Linked DNA regions of Homo sapiens: regions 1, 2, 4 and 5 are each linked to region 3. Evidence: promoter capture Hi-C in 16 types of primary human blood cells and fetal thymus (Javierre and others, 2016). All regions are on one chromosome and are shown on one strand. The core of a region is centred on a gene start or on the middle of the fragment in contact, and the rest is flanking DNA. Distances in the headings are between cores, read along the strand shown. Region 1 has its middle 19 kb from the start of CYBB. Region 2 has its middle 63 kb from the start of LANCL3. Region 3 holds the start of RPGR (retinitis pigmentosa GTPase regulator). Region 4 has its middle 81 kb from the start of LANCL3. Region 5 has its middle 190 kb from the start of LINC01281.

Region 1 (2,700 bases), core at 44-2,543, 570 kb before region 3:
TATAAACTTCTCATGTTACACCACTAACTACACTGTGTATTAATTGCCTGTGAACACTTCTGCACCATCCACTAGGCTATGAGTTCCATGAAGAATGAGAAAACCATGTTTGTCATGGTTACCACTGTTTCCATAATACCTAGAATGGTAGATTGATTGTAGTAATAAAATCAAGTAATGGCTTTTCTCTAGCCACACTTTACGGCTGCAGCTTTGTGATACCATCTCACTCTGAGTCATTGGCCAAGTGACTTGCTTTGGCCAATCAAATGTTAGCAAATGTGATGCAAGAAGAGGTTTGAAAAGCTCACACCTGTAATCCCCGCACTTGGGGAGACTAATGTGGGCAGATCACATGAGGCCAGGAGTTTGGGACCAGCCTGGCCAACATACTGAAACTCTGTTTCTACTAAAAATATAAAAATTAGGCAGGTGTGGTGGCTCACATCTGTAATCCCAGCTACTCAGGAGGCTGAGGCATGAGTATCGCTTGAGCCTGGGAGGCAGAGGTTGTAGTGAGCCAAAATCTTGCCACTATACTCCAGCCTGGGCAACACAGCGAGACTCTGTCTCAAAAAAAAAAAGAAAAAGAAAAAGAAAGAAAAGAAAAGAAAAGCTCATATATATTTCCTCTTGCTCTTTTGTAAGATTTGGCTCACTCACTGTTGCATCTTTAACTCATCATGAGAGTAAGTCTGGGTTAGCTTTCTGGAAGGATAAGAGGAACCAATGAAGAAAAACTGAAGCCATCCTAAACCAGCTAAGAACCAGATGCCTTTCAAACATATGAATGAGTTCAGCCAAGATCAACAGAGCCACCTATCCAACCCAAAGATGAGTGCAGATATATAAGTGACCCTGGTGAAGACCAAGAGAACTACCTAGACAACTCATGGACCCAAGAACAATAATGCATGATTAATATTTTAAGCCACGATGATCTGCAGTAGTTTCTATGCAACATTTTTGTAGCAATGAATGATAAATATATCTAACCCTCAAGATTTGTTCCAGGTGCTCTTTTTTCTCAAGCCTCTTTAAATAAGTTCTCTAACCCAAAACAGTAGATCAATTATTTTCTCTGCTTGTTTTCATGGAGTTCTCTCACCTCACTTATTTTAGGCTACATTTATGTTCATCATTTCCTATAACTTATCAGTTGATGGGCCTTGAAACTGTGACTCTCTAATTTCCTACTTGTCTCTCTTTTCTCTTTTCCAAATTGATAAATATATATTAGAAATACAGTGGCCATTTTTTCTTTTTCTTTTCACACATACTTTTAGCAAGTTTATTTTTCCTCTTAACTGCTAGGCCTTATGTCACTCTTATCCACTCAGTGTTATGCCAAAGCCATTGCATACTTGGTCATGAAAGCTAATTGCTAAACTTTCAGAAATTTTGTAAACTGGATATTAAATATAACCATCTTTGAAATCTGCCATGGTGGAAGTATTTACACCACAGAAATGGGCAAATTCTACAAATCAGGGCTGCCTCTCTAAATCCAGAGATGCAGTTATTAAACATGTACTAGTGTATGTACCATTGTCTATACCATTTATATTTTATTGATGAAACCCACTCACCTTTCAACCTCTCTCAGAGGGGCAGATGTACTGCCTGAGGGATTAGAAAGCTGAGAGGAGATAGGTAAAGGTAGTAGAATCTCTGGAAACAGAATATAAAAATTTGATTTCCTATGCATCTGTGTCTCATGGATGCACAAATTTCTGCAGCATTCTTTCTACAGACTGTCTTAACTGGAAAAGGCATTATGTGTGTGGGTGTGACCAAAACTCTAGCATTTACTTTCCTCACTGGTGCTGTGATAGAAATTACCCAATCCTTAGCTGCCCATCCTATAAAGCTCCTTCTTGTGCTTGAAGAATCCACCACTGTGACAGAAGACGAAAAGCTGAAATATTTATTCTCTTTGATTCTTGGCAGATGGAGCAAAAGCAGAAACATAATGAGATGCTTCCAGGACTTTATATATTGATGAGAAGTAGGAGAGTTTAGAATCCCATTCTACTGCCAGTGCTGGTGGTAGATGCCACTGATCCAGATGTTTTCCTTTGGCATCACCTTGGCTTCCCTTTATTCTTGCCTTGTTTCCCCTTCTGTTTCTCCAACCTTCCTGTCAATCTATCAAGACATTGTGTAGCTTTTTGATAAGTTATGTTTTGACAGAGTTAATCAAAAGTTGGCTTCTGTTGTTTGCAACTAAATGCCCTGCTTAAAACAAGCAACATGCTGAGAAATCCATGAAGGTGCCACCAGTGGATATGGGAGACATGAAGTGGCTGTTGATGCCACCACCTGGATGTGGTGCCTGGTTTATGCAGCTAGACTTCCACTAATGGATTAACTCAGTTGAAAGGAGTGTAGCTGACTTTCACATTCAGTTATGCTTTTTCTATAATATTAAAGCTCTTCATTTAAGTAATTTAAATAAAAGTAAAGTATGCTGCATTGAAGAGGATATATAATTTTGAGAAAGATGTAGTCACTAACACTGAGAGAAATAAGGCATATATTTTTTTCATTAATCTTTCATTGTTCTCCCTCAGAGCTTGACCTAACAGTTTCCACCCATGACTTTTCCTTGAGTACTATAAAATTAAGTTAAATTTTCTTGGCTATTCCTTCTTTGACTGATTGTCTTTGGCTCCTAAATCCTTTAGCAACTTTGCACCA
Region 2 (2,700 bases), core at 45-2,544, 820 kb before region 3:
TCCAAAGTGCAGGGCAGCTAACATTTAGAAGATGGTTGAGGTGTTTGAACACCCAGAGAGTTGCTGGTCCCACCTTGACCTTTATCTGCCCCAAGTTTATTACCTTATTCCCAATGTCTGCCCCAAGCTTACCTCAAAATCATCCTGTTCCTGAGAAGCTCAGTGTGGCCTCTGGATTCTCCTTTCAAGATATAGAGAAAAGTTCACCTTTTACATTTTCTTCATGGCTCTGGATAGAAAGATATTATTTCCTAGTATAAAGAATATTTCATATGGAAATGATACACTTGTTTCTCTATGTTTTCTTTTTTCTTGTTCCCCTTTAAAAACTCTTCTCCTCTCTCAGTCCACTCTCTATTTGACCGAAGGAAACCTCCATCCATGTAAACTCTAACGTTGCCCATGTCTGAGGAAAAATACTTCAAACATCTATCTTCTGTGCCACAAAAGAAAGTTACAAAGAAATAAGAAACAAAAAAGTCTTCTTTCTTCTGTGGGTTACAAAGGTAAAAGTCAAAAATTTACAGACTCTATGCTTTAGTCAAAGACACATGGGTAGCTTGCATCATTTCAAAGCTAGCAAATTGTTTTGAGCATTGTATTAGTCCATTTTTCAGGCTGCTGATAAAGACATACCAAAGATTGGACAGTTTATAAAAGCAAGAGGTTTATTGAACTTACAGTTCCACATGGCTGGGGAACCCTCACAATCATCGTGGAAGGTGAAAGTCATGTCTCACATGGCGGCAGACAAGAGAAGAGAAGGAGAGCCAAGGGGTTTCCCCTTATCAAACTATCAGATCTTGTGAGACTCATTCACCACCAGTAGGACAGTATGGGAGAAACTGCCCCCATGATTCAATTATCTCCCAATGGGTCCCTTCCACAAAACATGGGAATTATGGGAGTACAATTCAAGATGAGATTTGGGTGGGGACACAGTCAAACCATATAAGCATTTATTAAGATACGAACAAGTTTCGCTGTGCAACAATTGTCTTCCACATTTCCGTATGAGTGCACTGTAACACTTTTCTTAAAAATTAGGATTCTGGCACTTTGAGTTCAGTTTACAGAAAATGCTTTCGCCTTTTTACACATCTTTGTCAAACTTGGTCTTCTCACTGCATCTCTTTCGCTGCCTACTGTAAGGACTTCTGAATTCTCTGACTTTGTCTCAGCTATTACCTATTGAAATATATATGTCCCTTGACCGTTCTCCTGTGGATATGAGAAAGAACGAGCAAGCATTAAGTTTTGAGTGTTTCAAACTTTAAGTTGACTGAGGGGACTTCTTAATTTTTTGTTTTGGAGAGAAAATTTGGTGTAGTGTTTTCTTAACCTCAGATTGCCTGGGTTCAAATCCAATCTTAGCCTCTCATTTTGGGTAAACTTGAGTAATTTGTTCAACTTTTCTGTGCCTCAGTTTCTCCATATGTAATATAGGGATAATAAAAGCATTAACCCCATTGGGTTGTTGAGATTAAATGAGTTAATATATGTAAATCACTTAGAGTAATGCCTGGCACAGTGTATGTTTACAATGTGGTACTCATGATTTATCACCATTATCATCCTCTACTCTTTTAACTTTTATTTAGGTTCAAGAGAACAAGTGCAGGTTTTTATATAGGTAAACTGCTGTCATGGGGGGTTGTTGAATAGATTATTTCATCATCCAGGTACTAAACCGTGTACCCAATAGTTATTTTTTTGTTCCTCTCCCTCTTCCCACCCTCCACACTCAGGTAGGCCCCAGTGTCTGTTGTTTCCTTCTTTGAGTCCACGTGTTCTCATCATTTAGCTCCCAATTATAAGTGAGAACATGTGGTATTTGATTTTCTGTCCTTGCATTAGTTTGATAAAAACAATGGGCTGGAAGCCATCATCCTCTACCCTTATGTTTCTTTGTGGTCTTTATGCTTTGGGAAAATACTTCACTTCTACACGTTGCCACTGGGGGTCTCTCTTGCATGTCTAGTAACCAGTTGCCCTGCATACTGAGAAGGAAAAAACCTTAGAAGATAGTTTGGTTGTCAGGTGTCTCCAGGACTCAGAAGGGTACATGGCTGTTTTCCTTACCCCCCACACCTCAGTCCCAAGACAGGAGGAAGGTTGTCCTGTGACAACTTTCCGTGCTATTCCCCGCCCCCGCCCATTCTATCTCAACCAGCTTTCCCTTGAATTCACTCCTAGAACACTGTTCTTGTTCTTCCCAAACCCAGGTTGCCTGAGTCTCCTGTTTCCATCCTGAACTTCCTCCCACTCTTCAGAGATGGACAAGAGCAACAGGATGAAGTGCTCACCCTGATCCCCACCTTTGTCTGGATGTTTGGAGCTGAAAAGGAGAGGAATGGCTAGGTGGGCACTGGGGGGAGAATGAGAAAAAGAGAACACATTAGGGCCACTGACAACATAAGTAAAATCCACATATCATCATGAGCTTTGGCATAGAGGCTCTCAAGCTTTGCTGCACATCCAAATCACCTGCAGAGCTTTTGAAAATCTCAATGTCCAGGCAGCATCCCAGACCAAATACATAAGCCTCTGGCGCAGGGCCTGGGCATGCCAGGCATTGAAAACCAGCACTAGCATCTGGCTGCTCAAAATATGGTCTGTGGACCAGCAGTATCAATCTAAACTGAGAACTTGCTAGCAATGCAAAATTTCAAGCCACACCCCAGGGCTACGGAATGAGCA
Region 3 (2,700 bases), core at 82-2,581:
AGCCAAGGTTTGGTGGCTCTGCTCTGGCCCTGTAATATCTACTGTCAATTTATATGGTCATTTTGTTTACTTTCCTGTATGTCTCACTAAATTGTGAACTGCAGGCCAGGAATGTCAGTTCCGGCCAGGAGCATGGAAGAAAACATACATATTTCAGTGAAGGTATGATTCTGCTCAAACCCAGTGTTTTTTCAAAATGGTCGTGACCTATTAGTGGGCCAGAAAATCAATTCAGTGGATCACGATCAGCATTTTAAAAGAATGCATTATCAAAAAGGTGTGTGTGGAATCTAAGTGGATAGAACAAGGACTGCTTCACCAGACATCTATTTCTGTTACACGGTATATATGGAGTATCGGGTCACAATGTCAAAAGTATTTCTAACTATGGAGCTCAGGAAAAAAAAGGCTAAAAAACACTCGCTAAAGGGTCCCTCTTCTCCCTCTTTGTCCAATTTATTTCCTGTATCCCCTTTTACCCCACAGCCCTGATCACTCACTCTTTACTGCATTCAATACATAACCGGGAGCTCAGGACCTCCAAAGTGCACAAGTCTGGAGTCCGCACTTTGGGGAGTTTACAGAAAGTGTCCCTCCCTGGCCGGGCGCGGTGGCTCACGACTGTAATCCCAGCAATTTGGGAGGCCGAGGTGGGCTGATCACCTGAGGTCGGGAGTTCGAGATCAGCCTGACCAACATGGAGGAACCCCGTCTCTACTAAAAATATAAAATTAGCCGGGCGTGGTGGCGCATGCCTGTAATCGCAGCTACTCGGAGGCTAAGGCAGGAGAATCGCCTGAACCCGGGATGCGGAGGTTGCGGTGAGCCGAGATTGCGCCATTGCACTCCAGCCTGGGCAACAAGAGTGAAACTCCGTCTCATAAAAAAAAAAAAAAAGTGTCCCTGCCTTCAAGAAGCTCATCAAGAGCTTATTTAAAAAGCATACGAAAGACAGGCACCCTCTTTCCCGTTCTCCCCCATCCTGTTCTTCCCGTCCGGTCCTCTGCCCTCAGTCATTCGCGGGAGCGCAACCAGCGATCCCGCCCCAGTCCGGCTGCCAAGCCTGGGGCCTGTCCCCCTACAGGGCCGATCCGGAGGCGGGGCCCGGCCGCCCGCGGACCCTCCCTCCCGGCCTTCCGCCACCGGCGCGGGCGCAACTCACCGGGCATCAGCTCTTCCGGCTCCCTCATGCCACGGGCAGTACGGGCAGCCTGCGCCGGGGCCAGGAGGCTGTAGAGGACGGTTTGGTCGGGGCTAAAGCAGCTACTCCGCACCGACGCGGGCCGCGAAAGCCCCCAAGTTCCGCATGGCGAAACTCCGGAGATCAACTACAACCGCGCTCCCGGAAGTCAACAAACAGCCGCTACGGGCAACGGGGGCGGAGCTTGGGAATGCAAGGCGGGACAGGCGCCGTTGGGGAGGGGAACGGAGGCCGGGTGGCTGGTAAGGGGCAGGCTCAGGCACAGCGGAGGGGCAGTAGAGACCACGCGCCCTCTGGCGGCCTGGAGCAGAGAGGCGGCCACGCCGCGCAGTGATGCTGTGGAGTCCGCGCCCTTGTGCCGTTGGAGGTCCAGGCGCCGCAGGGACCCTGCCCATGAGTGGCAAACGTCACAAATCCCATACTCCGTGACATAAGCAAGCATCGACACACAATTATGACACTACTAGTAATAGTGACCAGCTGGAACATTAAAGGAGGTAAGCACTCTGCTAAAGATATCCCCAGCATCTAAACCAACATCTGGCCTATACTGAATGCTCATTACGTATTTATTGGACAAATGAGTACTATTACAACCCTGTAAAGTGGTTAATGTTACCTCTGTTTAAGCATGTGGGCAGCTAGTCCAGCTAGTCCAGCCTGTAGTCAACAAAAGTAAAAGCTGAGGTGTATATGGTCCACTACTCACAGAACATACACAAAGGGGTAGCCCAACATCATTGCTCTAGAATTTGCTCAGCGATGTTATATGATGCAGGGTTTCCCATGCATCAACATTTGGCTATCATGAAATAAAGAAGCAAAAAGCCATCTTCCAGAATGAGCAGATTTACGTACGTTTGGTAGTTGTGGACATGGGCCCTAGAATCAGACACAATTGGATTCAGGGATCCCTGAATTACTCTTGTGTGTTACCAACACTTTCTCAGGAAGTTTGCATTAACATGAAGAGGGGACATTAAACTATTAGTTACACAAATAATCATTTACTTACAAAGCAAAGTGGAGGTTACTAAGGAAGTGGTTAACAAGAAGCGTTGACCTGGTGTAGGAGGTTAAGAAAGGCTTATCTGAAGAAAGAACATTAAATCTAAGAACTGGAGAAAGATAAGCCAGGAGGGGGAGAGAGCTCTTGGCAGAGAGTAAATTGTGTATAAAGGTTTGTAAGGAGCTTGACTCTTTCCAGGAACACCAAGAGGCGAGGCTGGTTCCTAGCGAGGTGGCAAGGTCTTGGGCCTATTAAGGATCTGAGATTTTATCCTAAAGACAATGTGAAACCACTGAGAAGTTTTAGGCAGTAGAACAACAGGACAGGATCAGTTATGTGTGTCCCTGAAATCATTCTGCCTGGTCTAGATGCTTTGTAGAGAATAAACTGGAGCAGTGAGAAGGGTTCAGAGGCTATTGCAGAATTTCAGACATGTGGTCAGGATGGCTTGGAGTACAGTTCATTGGTGCCAGAGAGGAGCAGGCAGATT
Region 4 (2,700 bases), core at 26-2,525, 840 kb before region 3:
CCACCTTCCTCACCACAGCTGACTGGCTCTGGGGTCAGATAGTCGTGATCTCTGCCCCTGTGCTTTGTGTTCCTGGCTTAAGGTTAGGTACCCAAGGACCAGCCTGATTTTATTCCAGGACATCGAGGCAGAAGGAAAGCATCTTTCCTTGATCTTCAAGAGTCCATGAGGGATTTTTCTTTTTTCTTTTCCTTTTGGAGACCGAGTCTTTCACTCCTGTCGCCCAGGCTGGAATGCAGTGGTGGGATCATGGCTCACTGCAGCCTCGACTTCCTGGGTTTAGGCAATTCTCCCACCTCAGTTTCCTGAGTAGCTGGGACTACAGGTGTGTGCCACCATGCCTTTTTTTTAAAAATATTTTTTTGTAGAGGGGTGTTTCGCCATGTTGCCCAGGCTGGACTTGAACTCCTGGGTTCCAGCAATCTGCCTGCCTTGGCCTCCCAAAGTGCTGAGATTACAGTGGTAAGCTGCCATACCTGGCCAATGAGGGATTTTAAATTTCACTCTCCAGAAGGAAAAAAAGGAGAAGGATTGAGATATGTGTGTGTGTGTGTGTGTGTGTGTGTGTGTGTGTGTGTGTGTGTGTGTGTGTATGTGTGTGTATTTGGTGCAGTAAGCAAAAGGAAGAAAGTGTGATAACCCAGAGCTATCTAAACCTCTCCTTTTTCTCATCTGCCTTCCCACTGAGAGGGTGTGTTCTGGTATGCACTCCAGTGCCATAAGCCTACAGGACCCTGTGGGTACAGCCTGTGGTTATCCAGTACCTTCTTTGACTAGCTAATTTGATTAGTTAGAAGAGGCTATCTCCTGTAACAAATGTTTCTAATCTCTTTAGCTTTTAAAGTAAATTTTTATTTTTTGTTTTTATCAAGGTCCAGTGCAAGTTGGTGGTGACAATGATGAGGGGACATTCTCCATAAGTTTTCCAAAGTTCCAGGCTCCTTCTCCAAATTGGATATGTCATATTGTAGGGTCTGTTCCTCTTCTTCACTTGAGACATGGATTGCACAGGGTGTGTCCTATAAACTAGGCCTTATTTGGCCATACATCAGTTATTTTCATATTCCAATAGCCAGAAATCAGTACATGTCCCCATCAAATCACAAGAGTAGCTTGAAAAATATGGTTACTTGTGGACCAAGATGAAAACAAATAAGCTTTGGTGAAGTTATTCTGCCACAGCGAGTTTCTCTAATTGGAAGATTTGAAAAGTACTATCAAGTTCATTTTGCTACAGACCTAAGTTTGTTCTTCAGTGAGCTGAGTCTTGTGTCTACTAATTGGTTTCAAATTCAGCAGGGAAGACACGGGGATTAGTTATTGAGTACCTAAAACTGTGAACATACAGGACTTTTCGAAGTAAATTTTAAAAAAGGAGTCTTTACTCTGGTGTTTAAGCTTTGATCCTGAAAACATATCTGAAATCACATTCCCTATCATGTGGAGTCATCCCTCCTGCAGACAGAATTAAGCTTCAGGGTGCAGCAGACATGGGTGAGCATTTAAAGGGAAGTTGACATCTACCTAGAAGACAGATCCACTAAAGTTTTCCAGTGCCAGAGAAATGCCATGCTTTGGGCATTTAGAATAGTTCCTACTCTGCCTGGGAGCTCTATACCTTTATCTCCAAAGGAGATGAGCACTCCCTAATTGACACCCTCCACCCTCCTGTTCATGGGAGAATCCTACTGGTCATCCAGACTCACAACTGTGCATTAGGTCCATGCTCATCACCGAGGCTAACCCAGTCCTTGATTCCAATCATGAATGGACAAACGTTTTCCAGATATTTAAGGAAAGTGAGGAAGATGCACAAATAGAACTAATTCTGGAGGAGGGAAAAAAGGATATAATACAGGAAACAGAAGAAAACGTTATCAGAACATACTCTCAGAGTTTAAGAAAGACAAGAAGTTTATGAAATGAGAACAAGCTGTCATAGAGGGGAACAATCAGGGGACAGGCGAAAGTCCTTGGACACTAGAAAAGTTACTACAGAATTGACGTAGCACAGAGGTCTGATAGTGCCCAATTCCCCGGGCTGCCCATAGAACTCAGCGTGCTCCCCCACCCCCACCTGTCAGAAGTCCCTCGCAGCTCCGCACCAGCCCACACCCGCCCGACCTTGTGCGCTCCTCCCCGCATAAAGGTCTCCACCGCTCACTTCCGGTCCCTTCGCAGAGCCTGTGACCACACTACCACCGGGCCCGGGGGACGACGCCCTCCACCAGCCGCCGCTGTCGTCCACCATGGTGGTGCTCCGAGGACCCCGCCGCTGCCGCCACTGCCCACGCCGATGCCACTACCCGCTCCGGGCCCCTGGCAAACCCACTGCTTTTCCCCTCCTCCCAGCGCCCGCGCTGCCCGCCCTGGGCCCGCTGTCGCCGGTGCGACGGTACCACCATCCCAGCTGTGAGGCTGCCATCAACACCCACATCAGCCTGGAGCTCCACGCATCCTATGTGTACCTGTCCATGGCCTTCTACTTCGACCAGGACGACGCGGCCCTGGAGCACTTTGACCGCTACTTCCTGCGCCAGTCGCAGGAGAAAAGGGAGCACGCCCAGGAGCTGATGAGCCTGCAGAACCTGCGCGGTGGCCGCATCTGCCTTCATGACATCAGGAAGCCAGAGGGCCAAGGCTGGGAGAGCGGGCTCAAGGCCATGGAGTGCACCTTCCACCTGGAGAAGAACATCAACC
Region 5 (2,700 bases), core at 108-2,607, 810 kb after region 3:
CAGGCAATATGCCTACTTACACTGGAACTATTTTGCATAGTAGGAAAATATTAGAAGTGTGGAATGTTGGAACTACTTCTTGTAGCTTTTCCTCAAGGTCCTACGAGAAAGCCTGTTCCATCTGGAAGCAAATAGGGAGTAGCTTATACCTCTACTAAGAGAGACTCTTCCTAATGAGACTATAACTACCCAATGGCTTCTCCTTGCCCACTGCCTAGACAGAGCTGATTTGTCAAGACAGGAGGATTGCAATAGAAAAGAGTTTAATTCACGCAGAGCTGGCTATAAACGAGACCAGAGTTTCATTATTACTCAAATCAGTCTCCCAGAAGACTCAAGGATCAGAGTTTTTAAGGATAATTTGGTGGGTAGCAGGCCAGTAAATCAGGAGTGCTGATTGATTGGCTCGGGGATGAAATCATAGGGAGTCAAAGCTGTCCTCTTATGCTGAGTCATTTCCTGGGTGGGGGCCACAGGACTGGTTGGCAGGTCCAGGTGCGGCCATCTGGTTGTCAGAAATGCAGAAACCTGAAAAGACATCTCAAAAGGCCAACCTTAGATTCTACAATAGTGATGTTATCTTCAAGAGTAATTGGAGAAGTTGCAAATCTTATGACCTCTAGAATAATGGCTGGTAATTATTTATTAATAGAATCCAAGCCCCTTTCATCCTTACTTGGTGGCCTTCCATTAGTTTTACAAGAGCAGTTTCCTTTTTGGGAAGGGCTATGATCTAAACTATAAATTTCTCCCAAAGTTAGCTTGGCCCACACCCAGGAATGAGCAAAGACAGCCAACCTGTGAGGCAAGAGACAAGATGGAGTCAACCATGTCAGATTTATCTCACTGTTATAATTTCCTCAGTAATAATTTTTCCAAAGGTGGTTTCATGGCTAGCAACCTCAAATATATGAGAAACATGACTCAGAGTCTTGATGGGACTGAAAAAGTCCTACTTTATGCCCCAACCTAAAGTTAGAGTTCACCAAGGCAGGGAGGAGGGAAAGGTAGTGAGGGATAAAATCAGTCCCAAGAAAGATCTGTGGAAAATCAGAATCCCTTGGCTGCTTCCAAATATCTCCAGATGAGTACTCTTTGCCTGACAAAGGAAATAATTATCCTCATTGTAGTAAACCATTTGCTCAAATTGAACAGGAGCTTTGAATTTGGAAGCAAGGGACAAATTACTTGGGCTTCACAACTAGCCTGTTGTTTTTTATTGCCCAAATGCAGGGGCCAAAATAGAACTGTTAAACTAAGAATAAAGGGTTACCTGCTACACACTGAGACCAATTATGAATAAAAGGAAGTTATAAGGCCAGGGTCTAGGTTCAAGCATTATAACTCAACAAGACCTCCATGTTTGATTAGAGCCACTCCTAGGTGCAGGATCCCTGTGTAAGTATTTTTTTGAAGGGGCAAGGGTTATCTATATGAACAATTTAATTTTTAAAATGTGCTACCAAACTGGTGGGCTTATGTGAGGTATACTGATTTATCGATGAAAATTCAGAATGATGGGATTAGAAGAGGTACTTACATATTTGTTTACTATTCAATCAGTGCTTGTGAAGATTCTTCATAGTATCCTGGCACCGTCTTTTCCTGTTCAGGTCCAGGAACTATCTCTTTGTGTTCTTTATTGCCAAATGTGTCATTCCTGTATAATTTCTTATCACTCACTGCAAGAAAAAGGTAGCAATGCTGTTATTACTCACAATGCCATGGCTCTTTGGAACCTGTTTATATTGTAACTCTATAGATCTTCTTGCCTCTTCAGTTCCCTCATACCACATATTCCATTTATTCAGAGCTGGATACTTTATCCATGTTGCCACGTCATCCGTAGTGCCACCCATGAACACTGGCTTCCAATGACTCTCTCAAAGGTCATCAACTGTGCTTTGTTGATGATGATAACAAATGTAAGTCTTAGTGAGTATGCAAGAAAATGCAAATAAGTTGCTTTGTGGTCTTGCCAAAATTACTGTTTAAGCTGGGTGCAGTGGCTCATGCCTGTAATCCCAGCACTTTGGGAGGCCAAGGCAGGCAGATCACTTGAGGTCAGAAGTTCGAGACCAGCCTGGTCAACATGGTGAAACCCCATCTTTACTAAAAATGTAAAATATTAGCTGGGCATGGTGGTATGCACCTGGGATCCTAGCTACTTGGGAGGCTGAGGCATGAGAATCACTTGAACCTGGGAGGTGGAGGTTGCGGTGAGCCGAGATTGCACCACTGCACTCCAGCCTAGGCGACAGAGCAAGACTCTGGCACACACACAAACAGACACACACACACACACACACACAATATTGTTTAGAATGTTATAGTTTATAGAACAACTCATATTCCACTCATGTCTCTCCTTGATCTCTTTAGGCTGTCATCATTGTATTTCTAGAATGTAATCTCTTTCAATGATGACCTCCACTCTTGCCTTGCACACATCACCACCAATAGGGAGGCAGATAGGTGAGGAACCCATGGACAGATAGAGTAGAGCAGTATCATTTGGGTAAGGAATGTCCATCTTTGTCCTGCATAGCTTGAGACCAGTCCAAAAGAGCACGATGTTACATTGATTGGAGGCAAGAAAGGACATCAATTAGGAGGGTCTATTCACATTATGGAGCAATAGTCTAGGAAGCCCTTGGAGGAGATAGGCATGCTCACCCCTGGGGGACCAGTGATGTGAAG

Evidence for each region. The method cuts DNA at HindIII sites, captures the fragments that hold promoters and counts their contacts. A CHiCAGO score of 5 or more calls a contact.
Region 1: a contact is called between a fragment that was not itself captured here and the fragment with the promoter of RPGR in region 3, in 1 of 17 cell types (neutrophils). The highest score is 10.0, in neutrophils.
Region 2: a fragment that was not itself captured here is called in contact with the fragment with the promoter of RPGR in region 3 in 1 of 17 cell types (total B cells); the score reaches 8.0 in total B cells.
Region 4: a fragment that was not itself captured here is called in contact with the fragment with the promoter of RPGR in region 3 in 1 of 17 cell types (naive B cells); the score reaches 7.1 in naive B cells.
Region 5: a fragment that was not itself captured here is called in contact with the fragment with the promoter of RPGR in region 3 in 1 of 17 cell types (neutrophils); the score reaches 5.7 in neutrophils.

What each region holds. Positions count from the first base shown.
Region 1 is chrX:37,759,978-37,762,677 of GRCh38, forward strand. No RefSeq gene overlaps it. Among named protein-coding and RNA genes, the nearest start is that of CYBB, 19 kb to the right of the region's middle. The HindIII fragment of the contact is 4,220 bases long and covers 1-2,700 here.
Region 2 is chrX:37,507,528-37,510,227 of GRCh38, forward strand. No RefSeq gene overlaps it. Among named protein-coding and RNA genes, the nearest start is that of LANCL3, 63 kb to the right of the region's middle. The HindIII fragment of the contact is 2,338 bases long and covers 126-2,463 here.
Region 3 is chrX:38,326,178-38,328,877 of GRCh38, forward strand. RPGR (retinitis pigmentosa GTPase regulator) reads right to left here and starts at 1,332. Exons shown (of 15, transcript NM_001034853.2): 1 at 1,163-1,332. The coding sequence starts at 1,190. It also overlaps a transcript of OTC not described here. RefSeq lists a silencer at 1,021-1,270. The HindIII fragment of the contact is 17,506 bases long and covers 1-2,700 here.
Region 4 is chrX:37,489,640-37,492,339 of GRCh38, forward strand. It overlaps the pseudogene FTH1P19. Among named protein-coding and RNA genes, the nearest start is that of LANCL3, 81 kb to the right of the region's middle. The HindIII fragment of the contact is 241 bases long and covers 1,156-1,396 here.
Region 5 is chrX:39,137,900-39,140,599 of GRCh38, forward strand. No RefSeq gene overlaps it. Among named protein-coding and RNA genes, the nearest start is that of LINC01281, 190 kb to the right of the region's middle. The HindIII fragment of the contact is 4,995 bases long and covers 1-2,700 here.